Regions from separate parts of the Homo sapiens genome. Here region 1 is linked to region 2. The links are contacts of gene promoters, found by promoter capture Hi-C in blood cells and fetal thymus (Javierre and others, 2016). All regions are on one chromosome and are shown on one strand. Each heading gives the region's core, a stretch centred on a gene start or on the middle of the fragment in contact. The rest is flanking DNA. Distances are from core to core; before and after follow the strand shown. Region 1 overlaps NOS2 (nitric oxide synthase 2). Region 2 holds the start of TMEM97 (transmembrane protein 97).

The links. Contacts are between HindIII fragments. The CHiCAGO score rates a contact against its expected background, and 5 or more counts as called.
Region 1: a fragment that was not itself captured here is called in contact with the fragment with the promoter of TMEM97 in region 2 in 1 of 17 cell types (M2 macrophages); the score reaches 5.4 in M2 macrophages.

Annotation. Positions count from the first base shown.
Region 1 is chr17:27,778,845-27,785,093 of GRCh38, forward strand. NOS2 (nitric oxide synthase 2) reads right to left here. Exons shown (of 27, transcript NM_000625.4): 6 at 4,100-4,262; 7 at 3,171-3,262; 8 at 2,192-2,333; 9 at 1,923-2,062; 10 at 38-212. Among named protein-coding and RNA genes, the nearest start is that of NOS2, 19 kb to the right of the region's middle. RefSeq lists an enhancer at 4,163-4,662. The HindIII fragment of the contact is 4,802 bases long and covers 809-5,610 here.
Region 2 is chr17:28,316,310-28,322,632 of GRCh38, forward strand. TMEM97 (transmembrane protein 97) reads left to right here and starts at 2,891. Exons shown (of 3, transcript NM_014573.3): 1 at 2,891-3,056. The coding sequence starts at 2,931. RefSeq lists enhancers at 1,170-1,995, 2,215-2,474, 2,955-3,014. The HindIII fragment of the contact is 1,585 bases long and covers 1,819-3,403 here.

The DNA of each region.
Region 1 (6,249 bases), core at 1,960-4,459, 540 kb before region 2:
CACACCTTCATCTGGCCAGCTGGGCTGGCTGGGTTACCTCCAGGATGTTGTAGCGCTGGACGTCACAGAAGTCCCGGACTCCGATCTCTGTGCCCATGTACCAGCCATTGAAGGGGCACCCTGGGAACTCCAGGCCGCCCACCTCAAGCAGCATGTTGGCCACTGCAGGCAGGGCGTACCACTTTAGCTCCAGTTCCCGAAACCACTCGTATCTGGCAAAAAGGTAGACACAATTTAACTGGGGCCTTCCTTATTTTTATTTTATTATTATTTTTTTTTTAGTGACTTGGTCTTGCTCTGTTGCTCATGCTGGAGTGCAGTGCAGTGGCACAATCATAACTCACTGCAGCCTTTAACTCCTGGGCCCAAGCGATCCTCCTGCCTCAGCCTCCCAAGTAGCTAGGACTGCAGGCATGTGCCATCTTGCTCAGCTAATTTTTTTCCTTATTATTATTATTATTATTATTATTATTATTATTATTATTTTATAGAGTCTCACTATGTTGCCCAGGCTGGTCTCGAACTACTGGCCTCAAGTAATCCTCCTGCCTCAGCCTCCCAAAGTGCTGGAATTACAGGTGTGAACTACCTTGTCTGGCGCTGGGGGCTTCACTTTTGCACCTTTGGCCTCCCACTGACCCCCCACCTGCCCACCAAGAAAAAAGCTTCAGAAAGAGTCAAACAAGAAAACTCCTTTCCAAGAGTTGATTCTGAGTTAATCCCAGCCAGAGAGACGTATTGGACACATAGGATGCCATTTATTAAATTATGCATTCATGCACTCATTCATTCATGCAAACCTATATTAAGCTTCAAGTATGTGCCAGGCTCTGTGCTAAATGCTGAGAATGCAACACAACAGAGCAATTAAGGACTCCAGTGTCAGAAGCTGGGGTTCAAGTTCTGCCTCTGACTAGCAGTGTGAACTTGGGATGTTTTTTAGCCTCTCTGAGCCTCAACATCCCCATTATCAGAATAGAAACATAGCATCAAATTCATGGAATTATTATAAAGCTAGTAATATCATTCACTTGTATATTCAGTTATTCCACAAATATTTATAACTGAGCACCTACTATGTGCCAGGCACTCTGCTAGCTGTTGGGTATACATTGTGAACAGAAAAGAAAAGATCTCCACCCTCAAGGAACTTGTAGTCTAATGTCTAGACTCTAGATTATAAATGGGTAAACAAATATATAAGAAATAAAAACAAGATGATGTGTTAGACTGAGGGTAAGGGGGCCTCCTCTAGCTTGAGTGGTCAGAGAGCCTTCTCAGAGGAGGTGACATTATAGGAAATACCTTTTGACAAGAAGAAATGAGCCTAGAAAAATTCTGAGGAAAAGGCATGTCATGCAAAGGGAACAGGGAGTACAAAGGCTGTGAGTCAGGACTGAATTTGGTTCATTCAACGGCCAGGAAGAAGAGCCCAGCCCAATGTCTGCTACAGAGTAAATCTCAATACGCAGAGGTATTTTTGCAATTATGAGAACTGCCTAGAGCAGGGGCTGGGCCAGTAGGACTCTTGAAGTCACTGCAGCCCTATATGATCCCGACAGGAGAGGGACAGCTAAGAGCATTGGCAGGAGGGCAGAAGAGGCCTGGGCTGCTCCTTTCTAGAATCTCAATGCATTCCTCTCCTGCAGTCACTGCTTCTCAAGCTCCTGGGGCCCCATCCGCCTAAGCCTCTGCTTCCCCTCAGCATCAACACATCCACCTGTCTGAGGCCCGAGGTGCCAGTGCAGAATGGCTGCAGAATGCAACAGTGACAAAAGAGTCCTTGAAGGCCAGCCCCCTGAGTGTCACCTGCTGCTGGCTGGGCTTTAGGGAAGGTATGGGGAAGGCTGGAGCCGCACTTAGGAAAGGAGAAGGGCTGTGTGTTGACTCGCCCTTGCCCCCAGCACCCTCAGCCTACTTACTTGGGATGTTCCATGGCCACCTCAAGCACAAGGTCAGGTGGGATTTCGAAGAGCTCAGGGTCACGGCCATTGGCCTGCAGGACCAGGGGGACCACATCGAAGCGGCCGTACTTGGGCTTCCAGCCCAGGTCGATGCACAGCTGGGGAACAAGACGGGCCCTGTGAGTCTGTAAGCCCGGGCTGCGTGTCTCCTCTGGGCTCCACTCTGTCACTCGCTCACCACGGGGCTCCCCGCCCCAATGGCCGGTGGCTGAGGCTGGGCCGGGTACCTGAGTGAATTCCACGTTGGCAGGGTCCCCTCTGATGCTGCCATCTGGCATCTGGTAGCCAGCATAGCGGATGAGCTGAGCATTCCACACCCGGAAGTCGTGCTTGCCATCACTCCGCTGGGGGAACACGGTGATGGCCGACCTTCCCAGGACAGGAACAGTACTGTTTACCACCTAGCCCTGGTGGGGGCCCAGCCATCCTGCACTGGCCCTACCTCCCTCTCCACCCTACCTGCTCTGCAGCCCCTGATCCCAAGCTGACTGAGCCAGCCTCCTGACATGCCTTCTCCTGCTGCCCTCCCTCAAGACCCAGGGTCCACCCCCTCAAGGGGGCCTTCCCATCCATCAGGCAGGGTTAGCTGATCTGCCAGTCTTTCCCTCACTGCCTATGTCTCCGTCCTTGCAGTTGAGTTAGCTGGTTGCCTGTCTAGTGCAGGTCATAGGCTCACACCAGCTGGAGCAGCATCTTAGGGTCCTAGTCACTCTTCCTCCTACCCCCCCATACCCCATCTTCCCCCTGCTCTCCCAGCCTTGTCCTGTGTTGAGTTGCATTAGGTAGGCACTGAGTGTTTGCTGAACAAAAAGATGAATGAATGACCAAATGAGCTGTTCAGTCCTATTAGCTTTGACCTCGTTGGTTGGGAGAGGAAGGTAACCTCTTAATGTCCCATGCCTTCTAAAAAATGGGAGCCCCAACCCTGAATAGTGAAGCAGTTACTTCTTAAAGATCCTCCATCCCCTCCAAGTGGCTCCACATCAGAAGGAAACCAAGGGCATGGGTTGCCGATGGGAGCTGAGCTCACAGGGGCTGGGCTCACTACTGGAAGTCCCCGAAGAAGCCTGAGTCTTTCTCTTTTTTCTTTCTCCCTGGTTTCTCCTGGAGCTGGAGATGCCTCCCCTAGACCCAAGTGCTGCATCTTTTGGCTAAGATTCTCAGGCAAGGCAAGCCCCTCTGCAGCCCTGGGAAATGTGCACCGACCTGATGTTGCCATTGTTGGTGGAGTAACGCACGTGTCTGCAGATGTGTTCAAACATTTCCCGGGCAGTGGAACAGCTGCGGGCATCGAAGACCTGCAACAGCCCATCCAGACCATGCCCATCAAAGACTGGGTAGACAGAGGCTTTGAGGCTGATCAGAAGTCACTGGGAATCAATAGTGCAGCCGAAACACTCAACACACAAACACTCAACACCATGCCGAAGAGTGCAGCCTCCAATCTGCACCTGCCACTCAACACCATGCAGAAGAATTCAGCCTCCCATCTGCACCACCGCTCCCATTTCATGGCTGCCCTCTAGGGGAGCACAGGCAACCCCACTCAGAAGACCCCAGCAAACCCAGAATTCCAAGAAAACCTGACTTGAAAGCACCATGAATCGGGATTGCCACAGCCCCAGGCTAGGTCCTTTCCCACACCAGCACATACTACACAGCCAGAGTTGGTTTCACTGGCAGTTCTAATCGATTTCTCTGTCCAAGTGCTTTTGATATTATCCTGCAACAAATGACTCCCCAACAAAAAGATGGCCTAGGAGGCTAGGCTAAATAAAATGTTCTCTTGGAGCCAAGAATTCAAGCATTGGAGGAAAACAACACATCTTGCAGCACCACGGCCTCAAGTGTAATAAAAACAAGGTCGTGGTTTACTCTAATGATGGCATTTAGTCTCCTGAATTTAACACAATAGAGAATGGGCAGCTAGAAACCCTGGTGCTGAAACAGGATTCAAGGCTTCTAGAGAGGGACCCTAGGTGCCCCATCTCAACATTTGGGAATGTAAGAGAGGATCCAGGGCCATGGCTTCAGTCCCAGGAGGCCTGGGCACAGCTCTGTGTGGCTGTTCCAAGCCATCTGCTCAGGGCCTGGCCGCCTCCAGCTCTCTCCCGCTCAAGTCTAAGGAAGTTCACCTGCAGGTTGGACCACTGGATCCTCCCAATGCAGCGTGGGGCATTGCGCCAGGCCTGCTTGGTGGCGAAGATGAGCTCATCTCCCGTCAGTTGGTAGGTTCCTGTTGTTTCTATCTCCTTTGTTACCGCTTCCACCCTGGCCAGATGTTCCTCTATTTTTGCCCTGGGGGACAGGAAGACAGCAGGAAGATCAACAATGAGATGGCCTTACATGGGGATTAATTCAATCCACAGAAGCAGGAACTGAAATAGGACATCAGAAGGGCAAGATGCCTCTCACCAGAGACAGCTCCCTCCAGGGCTGGCTTTGGGGACCTCACACTTAGCCTAGAAGCACCCCACGCTCAATGCTCTGCTGTCCCCATCTTGAAATTCTTAATCATTTTAAAATAAAGAGCCCACATTTTCATTTTTACATTGAGTCCTATAAATACTACCTAGCCAGTCCTGAGCCCATGGGAACACTGCTTATTTTCAGGTGCTTTTTCTTTAATCATATTCATCTCAGTAAGGGGTGCAATCCTTCTCAGACACTTGCAAGCCTGGGAGGAGTGTCCCATCCAGCCATAGCAATGTCCTGCCTCTCCATTAGTTAGTAGAGTGCCCTCCTTCCTTGCCATGACTGAGAGATGAGCCAGTCCCTCCGTGGCAGCTCCGGTGTACTGGGTACCCACATGAGCCAGGCACTGGGTGAAGCAACCCACAGGCAGGGTCTCACTGAGTCTGGGAGGGAGGTATTTTTGCATCTATTTTATAGCCAAGGATCTCAAGGCTCTAGGAGGTTAAGCACCAGGCCCAGGAACATAAGTACAGGAAAGAGCAAAGTCAGGACTCAGACCCAGGTCGCCCTGATGCCAAGCCCAGGTTCTTAACTGTCAGCAACGTGACCTTCCATCTTCCACCCTACGGGGACAGTAAGCCCAAAGATGTTGAGGGCCTGCCCACCCTTCTCAGGAGCCTGGTCAAGCCAGGACTGGGACCTGGCTATCGGAGCTCAGTCTGCAGGGTCCCAGGGCCTGGCCAGAAAAGAGCTGCCCACGTCATAGTCTCTCTAAACCGTGCTGTTCCTCAGCCTCAGAATTGCTCATTCAGTCACTCCATATGCAATTCTAAACTTGCTTCTCTCCTCCCCTCCCAGACTTCAAAAATATCCCAAAGGGAGGGAGGGACTCAGTCAGAAAGGCTTTGAAACACACACACACACACACACACACACACTACCACCACCACCAACAACAACAACCTTGAGATTTCCAGTCAGCACCAAAGCCTTTTGAAACAGCATCAAAACTATTTAAAGAATGAACTCCTGATTAAGGAGAGTGGGTAACTCTGAACAAAATGGCCTTTCTGTGGATGAAGAGTGTCTCGACAACTTTTCCTTGATTAGAGAAAAAAAGCACAAAGACAAAACACTGATGATATTTATCCCCAAGGACACCCCTGCCATAAGGAGCTGCTGGGTGAGGTGGGAACCACCCCACTGCTGGGAGACCTCCCTCCCCAAACAAAGCTTCCAGCAATATTCCCCCCTCTGCACCTGAGCATGACAACAGTAATGATCACCATAACACCCACACCACCAACACACATGGTGGTCAGCACGTGCATATGCAAGAAAGGATTATTTTTTACATTCACATCCAATTCCTTCAGAGTTTTAGATGTGATAGCCATTTTCATATAGTCATTTTCTAAGGCATTAGAAATGCTATGATGTCTATGAGCTCTGAAAAAAAGGAGTGGCTTTCATCATCAGTGAACAGATTTAAATGTAACATGCAGCAAGTCACAATCTCTAAATATGCTATGATTCTTCAGATACAAAAGGCCACTGAACCTGCTCAGCTGGTCATGTCTTAGATTGCCAGGGTCCCTGTGAGGAGAGGCTGCCATTCCCCGTTCACACCCCCAGGTTCTCTTGCTCAGGGAAGCAGGGGTTCAAGGTATGTACTTGTGACTTGGAAAAATACAATTTTCCTCTGGGAGAAGCAAATGGGTTCCAACACCACCAAGCATGGCCCTGTAGCCCTGCTGGGCTTCTGAACACCCGCCCAATTGCCTTCCACACAACAGCAAGGCCTCCCACGTCCAGAATAGAGTTGGGAACCTGCAAGGCCACACAGCTAGGTACTAGAGCATTGATGGGA
Region 2 (6,323 bases), core at 1,641-4,140:
GGTCTTGCTATGTTGCCCAGGCTGGTCTTAAACTCCTGGCCTCAAGGGGTCCTCCTGCCTCGGCCTCCCAAAGTGATTACAGGTATGAGCCACCACACCTGGCCCACTATTAAATAACATAAGGCTTACTTGAACACAAGCACCGTGATAACTCAATGGTCAATTTGATAACCAAGATGGCTACTAAGTGACTAACAGGAGTAGTTAGTCTGGGAACAGAGTGGAGTCTGAGAAAGAGCAAACTGCCTTTAAAGATTTATGGTGTGAACAAAATGGGCTCTCTCCTCAGGTGACCTAAGGTTTCCCAGGCATTGACTTTTTTTTTTTTTCCTGGAAAAAAAGCAGCAGCTAATTCTGAGTCCTCCCTCCTGAGCCCCTGGTAGAGTGTTCTCTCCATGGAGCCCGGCTCCCCCCTCGGAGCAGGACAAACAGCCCTGAACACCCCTGCCTCCCTGTGGCTGCCGGCTCTGTGGTCCTGGGCAAGGCTGACCTGAGACTTGGGGGACGCCAGAACTGTGTGCCCTCACGATGCTCAGCCACCCATGCTGTTCATCCCCTGCTCCCCACCCAAAGACCTCCACATTTCTCCTACTGTCTCCTTCCAACCTGCTCCTCCTCCTCTCCAGCCAAACCCCTCCACTGTTACCTCCCCCAGTAACTGGCACTTGGCTGAGGACTCAGCTTCCCCACAGCCCTCTCCAGCGCAGGCTATTCACCTTCTCGCACCCTTCAAGGTCAGGATAAGCGGCCTCCTCCCTCCGCAAGGCCATGTCCACACAGTTTCCCCTCCACTCTCATCCCATGCTCACCTTCCTTCTGGTTACTCCCCCGTGTGCAGTGGCATTTTCGCCACCACCACCCTGGGTGGCCTTCCCTTGACCTCATCTCCAAAGACCTTCCCCTCCACTCCATTTCAGCCGCACACTCCCACGGGCAGAACCTCTTCCTGACCCCAGGAATTCAGGTATTGCACGCCCTCCTCATAAGCTCCCACCCTTCCGGCCCAGTGACTCCCATCACGCTGGCACGTGTTCCTCAGCAGGCCTCCACTGTCTCCCTGTCTTACAGCCCCCTTTGGCCTCACCTCTCCCTCTCCCCCTACCTAGCTTGAACTGCAACCTTCTGCACCTCAATCACTCTTCTTCAGCTCTTCAAAGCCACCTTTCGCTTTTCTGAACCCAAACTCTGTAGGGGTCCAACAGCCTTCTTCTGGGTAGACCCCGCACTAGAGAAATGCAAAGCACACAGCCTAAGAGATTGGGGCCTCCGGGTCAGCGGCCCCCCACCTCAGCTGGGCCTTCAACACTGCCATAATCCCTCTGTCCTAGCCCACAGCGCCCCAAGGGAAGGGGAAGCTGGGCGGAGCGCAGTGCACCCACCTAACCCACCCCAATCCTTCCATTCCCTCCGCCTCCTCCAGGGCTTTGAGCCGCATTTCCTGCTCTTCTCGAGTAGGGGTAACCTCTCCCACTGTCAAAACTAAACTAGCTCAAGTCTTTCTCACCTGCAAAATAAACTCTCGAGTGCATCTCTCTCCAGCTACTGCCCCATGTCTTCTCCCCTTCGTGACCAGCTGTCTACACTTCCTGCCTCCATTTCCCCACTTTCTTACTCCCTGGCTCCTGCCCCCACGACACAACTGTTCCCCACAGGGCCACAGGCGGGCATCACTCAGTGTTGACAGGCTGCCCCTCCCTGTGACATAGCCCCCTGCTAGTACGCTCCTATCTCAGTCCCCTCCTCCCATGACCTGAGGCTGGAGCTCCCCCAGGATCTCTCCCAGGCCCTCTGCTCGCCATCAAAGGCGGATGCCTCACAAGCTTACGACTCCAGACAGGCTCACCCAACTGCCTCCTCCACCCAACGCTGCAGCCCACTCAAGGTCCACGTAGTCCAAGCTGCATTCCTTCCTCGCACTCCCTTGCCCTGTGTCCCCTCTTAGCAAATGGCAGCCTCGGCGATCCTGCCCCGAGACAGGCCTGCGCCCAGCGTGGAGATGAACATCAGTATTTGCTGAACGTGTAAACGAATCCTTGACCTTCCCTCATGCTCCACAGCCGGTGAGGATTCCTGTCCATTTTACTGCCTCCTACGTCCCTCGAGTCCTCCCCTCTGCTTCTTTGTTCACCGCGGCCAGCTGCCTCCCCAGACCCGCAACCCCGGCTGGGCCGGGAACCTGCACCGCGGCGCTCGTGCCCCGCTCTGCGACCCCTGCTCCGTGACGGCCGCACTGCACCGGGGTACCGCGGCCCAGCACAGGCGCTGGTCACTAGTACACGAACTAGCTAGGACTACAGGTGCACACCACCACACCTGGCTAATTTTTTATTTTTTGTAGAGATAATGTCTTACTAAGTTACCCAGGCTGGTCTTCTGGGCTCAAGCCATCCTCCTGCCTCGGGCTCCCAAAGTGCAGACATTACAGGCATGACCCACCGTGCACAGCGTCAGCTTTATTTTTTTAATGCTGACTTACTGCAGAAGGCCCAAGGGCCAGTGCAGTTTTCATACTGCTGTTGTAGTGGCGAACGGAGCCACGAGGGAAGGGAGCGCCGCCGGCAGCTGCCGGGACACCAGGATACCACGCGGCCAGCACCGAAACGCTAGGCTCGCGCTCACAACCGCAATCTACACTGAGTAGCCGCGCGCCGAACGGCGTGACTAAGCCCCGCCCACACGGCGCTCCTGGCGGCCAATGGAAATGGCTTACGAGACGCCTTCTCCACGCGCTATACTTATACGGACCAATGGGTGCGCCCTGTGGGGAGTGCCGCCCCCTGTCCACGAGCCTCCTCTTCTCGCCAGCCAATGGAAGCGGTCTGCCTAGCCCTCGCGGGGGCAAGGCGGCGACCGAGGCGCGTGGGTCTGGGAAGGCGCGCGGATTTGGCCCCTCTTCTCACATCAGCGGGTCCAGGCCCAACCGACAGACTATGGGGGCTCCGGCAACCAGGCGCTGCGTGGAGTGGCTGCTGGGCCTCTACTTCCTCAGCCACATCCCCATCACCCTGTTCATGGACCTGCAGGCGGTGCTGCCGCGCGAGCTCTACCCAGTCGAGGTGAGGGGCGCCCCTCTTATCCCGGCCCGCTGAGGCTCTCCCGGCGCTGCGTCCACAGGGCCTTCACCTCCTCCGCGCTCGCGCACTCTGGGTTCCAGTTGCCTCTCTCGGGTCCTGCCCATGCCTCCCCCGCTCCTAACCCAACTTTAGTTCGGTGTTTTCCTCGGGCTTTGTCTCTATCCCAGCCCCTTCTCCCAAGCGGCGGGGGCGAACGCTTTGTTTCCTTTAAAGTCACTTCTTCCCTGGGTTTAAGGTTTCCCGCGATTCCACCTCTGGCCGGTTGTCAGTGTCTGAGGGAAGTAGTCTGGATGAAGTGGTGTCCAAAGTCACATGTTAGGTTTGCTTTAAGCTTCTGGTTTTTTGTTTGTTTGTTTGGAAGGGCTTTAAAATACCAGTCTGATCCCAAAGAAAAAATCCGAGTAGAAATAGACCTGTCTGAAGGTTTAGCACCTTGGTTGGTGCAGCTGGGGCGTTCACAGATCGTCACTGCTTCGAGATCAGGTTCCAGCAACTTCCAGAGCTCAGGAGTAAATTGCCATCTTTTCAGATTGGCTCTTCAATATTGGGTTCGAGTAACAATGATCTCCTGAGTAAAAATAAAGGTGAAAATCCCGATTTCCTGGTTGTTGGAGAGCATTCTTTCAACCCCAAACTCTGCTTTAATGCTTTGTTTTTTTCTTCAAAGCTATAGTTTTAGTTTCCCGGTTCGTTGAGGTTTTTTTCTCGTATCTGGACCCTGTGACCTTCTTCCATGGAATTCCTGTCCTCAGTTTTGTTTCTCCATCTTATCTATAACTGTAGGCAGGACTGACTTGTCTACCCGAAGATTTTATTTTGCGTCTGTTTTTCCTTAAATGCTTTTTATCTGCCGAGGAGGGGTTCTTTACCTGAGGGTCATGAACTCCCAAAAATGGGTGCAAGTGTGTGTGCCTTTTGTTTCCTGCAAGGAGAATATAGCTTCCATCGACTTTTCAAGGGGCCTAACTCTCCCAAAAAGGCCACGGCTCAAGAATGTTCTACCACTCCCATAAGTCACTCTTTTTTGTTTGCTTCTAGAACCAAACACAACTGGAAGACCTCTGACCTCCTTTTGCATGGGAAAAGCGTAGGTAGCGTGTAGCAAGTTGCAGTCTGGGGACTTGGTTCTTCCAAGAACTGGAGGTGACTTGGGCAGGTCAGGGCTCTATATCCTCCTCAACTGTTGAGAGAGTTGAGTTAAATTATAAGCTCAAACATATACAGGGTGGGTTAGTTTTCATATTGCTGTTGTAGTTACCACAAATGTAGTGATTTAACAGATTTATTTGTTTACAGTTCTGGAGGCCAGAAGTTCACAATGAAATCTTACAGTGCTCAAATCAAGGCAGGGCTCACTCCTTCTGAGGGCTCCAGGGGAGAATCTGGTTCTTGCCTCTTCCATTTTCTGGTGGCTGCCAATGTTCCTTGGCTTGTGTTCACGTCACTTCAATCTCTGCTTCGGGTCATCACATTGCCTCCCTTTCTGTAGTCAGAGTTCCCTCTGCTTCGCTTTTATAAAGACACTTGTCATACATTCAGGGCCCACCAGATAACCCAGAAAATCTCCCATTTCAAAATCCTTAATTACATCTGCAAAGTCCCTTTTGCCAAATAAAGTAATAGTCACAGGTTCCAGGGATTAGGATGTGGTTATCTTTGGGGGCCATTATTCAGCCTACTACAGGGCCAGAGAGTACAGACTCTTCCCAAAGACCGAAGAGGTCATCGCAGCTCTGCAGTAACCATTAATTGCCCTGAAGAAAGGAAAATCTACTACAGTGTTGGCCTATCTGTGGTTTTTGAAACCTGTGTGGCCAGCAATACTCAGACAGGCTGCCTGTTTACAATCTCTGGTGTTATAGGACCTTTTAATACTTGGTAATTAGCCTGCTACTCCATGTAGCCATTCCAGACTTCACAGCTGTTGTCTTCTTTATCCTTCCTGGATGTGCCATTCTCACAAGCCCGTCTTGCTCACCCCTAACAAAATACACTTAAAAGGTGCTCAGCATCATATCATAAAGATCCCATTTAAATGTTTACATTTGATAAAATTTTCTCAGTCTTTTTTTTAGAAACAGGGTCCTTTGTCACCCAGGCTTGGCGTGCTGTGATGCAGTCATGGCTTACCACAGCCTTGAACCTGAGCACAAGAGATCCTCCCACCTGTCTCCTGAGTAGCTAGGACTATAGGTGCACACCACCACACCTGGCTAATTTTTTATTTTTTGTAGAGATGATGTCTTACTGTGTTACCCAGGCTGGTCTTCTGGGCTCAAGCCATCCTCCTGCCTCGGGCTCCCAAAGTGCTGAGATTACAGGTGTGACCCACCGTGCCCAGCGTCAGCTTTATTTTTTTAATGCTGACTTACTGCAGAAGGCCCAAGGGCCAGTGCAGGCAGCATCTGGCCAGAACCTGTGTGTGTGTGTGTGTGTGTGTGTGTGTGTGTGTGTGTGTGTTTGTGTGAGATTTAGGCATTAGCACGGGCATCCTGGGTGTGTGTGTATCTGTGTGTGTGATGATGTTTGAAGGCATTAGCTCGGTGGCATCCTGGCATGGAAGGTCTGTGCCTCCATTCTTGTTGCTTTGGTGTAGGAAATGCTGATTTTGTTGCTTCTCTATGGGGCAAATAATAATAAACGCCTTGAGTTATTCTCATATTCTCTTTGAAAAATGCCAAAATTTAACATCTGTCATTTTCTTCCTGAAATAGAAGGAATGTTTCCCTAGAGTTAAAAAACCTGTAGGAGATCACCTAGTGGTTGGGCTGAAACATGCACAATAAATTTTTTTTCTTGGATTGCACCAAATCACTGCTTGGAAAAACTCATTTTTTTATTTACTTTTTGTTTTTCTTTCTTTTTTTTTTTTGATTTTGTTTTTGAGACAGTCTCTTGTCGCCCAGGCTGTAGTGCAGTGGTGCAATCTCGGCTCACTGCAACCTCTGCCTCTCGGGTTCAAGCAATTCTCCTGCCTCAGCATCCCAAATAGCTGGGATTACAGGTGCTTGCCACAACGCCTGGCTAATTTTTATATTTTGTTATAGATGGTGTTTCACCATGTTGGCCAGGCTGGTCTCAAACTCCTGACCTCAAGCGATCTGCATGCCTCAGCCTCCCAAAGTGCTGGGATTACAGGTGTGAACCACCACGCCTGGCCTGGAAAAACTCTTATTTTATTATGAAACAGTAAGAATTTAGTTTGGATAAGAACATGGTAAGGAGAGGATGGGAAGCATTTTGTAGTAT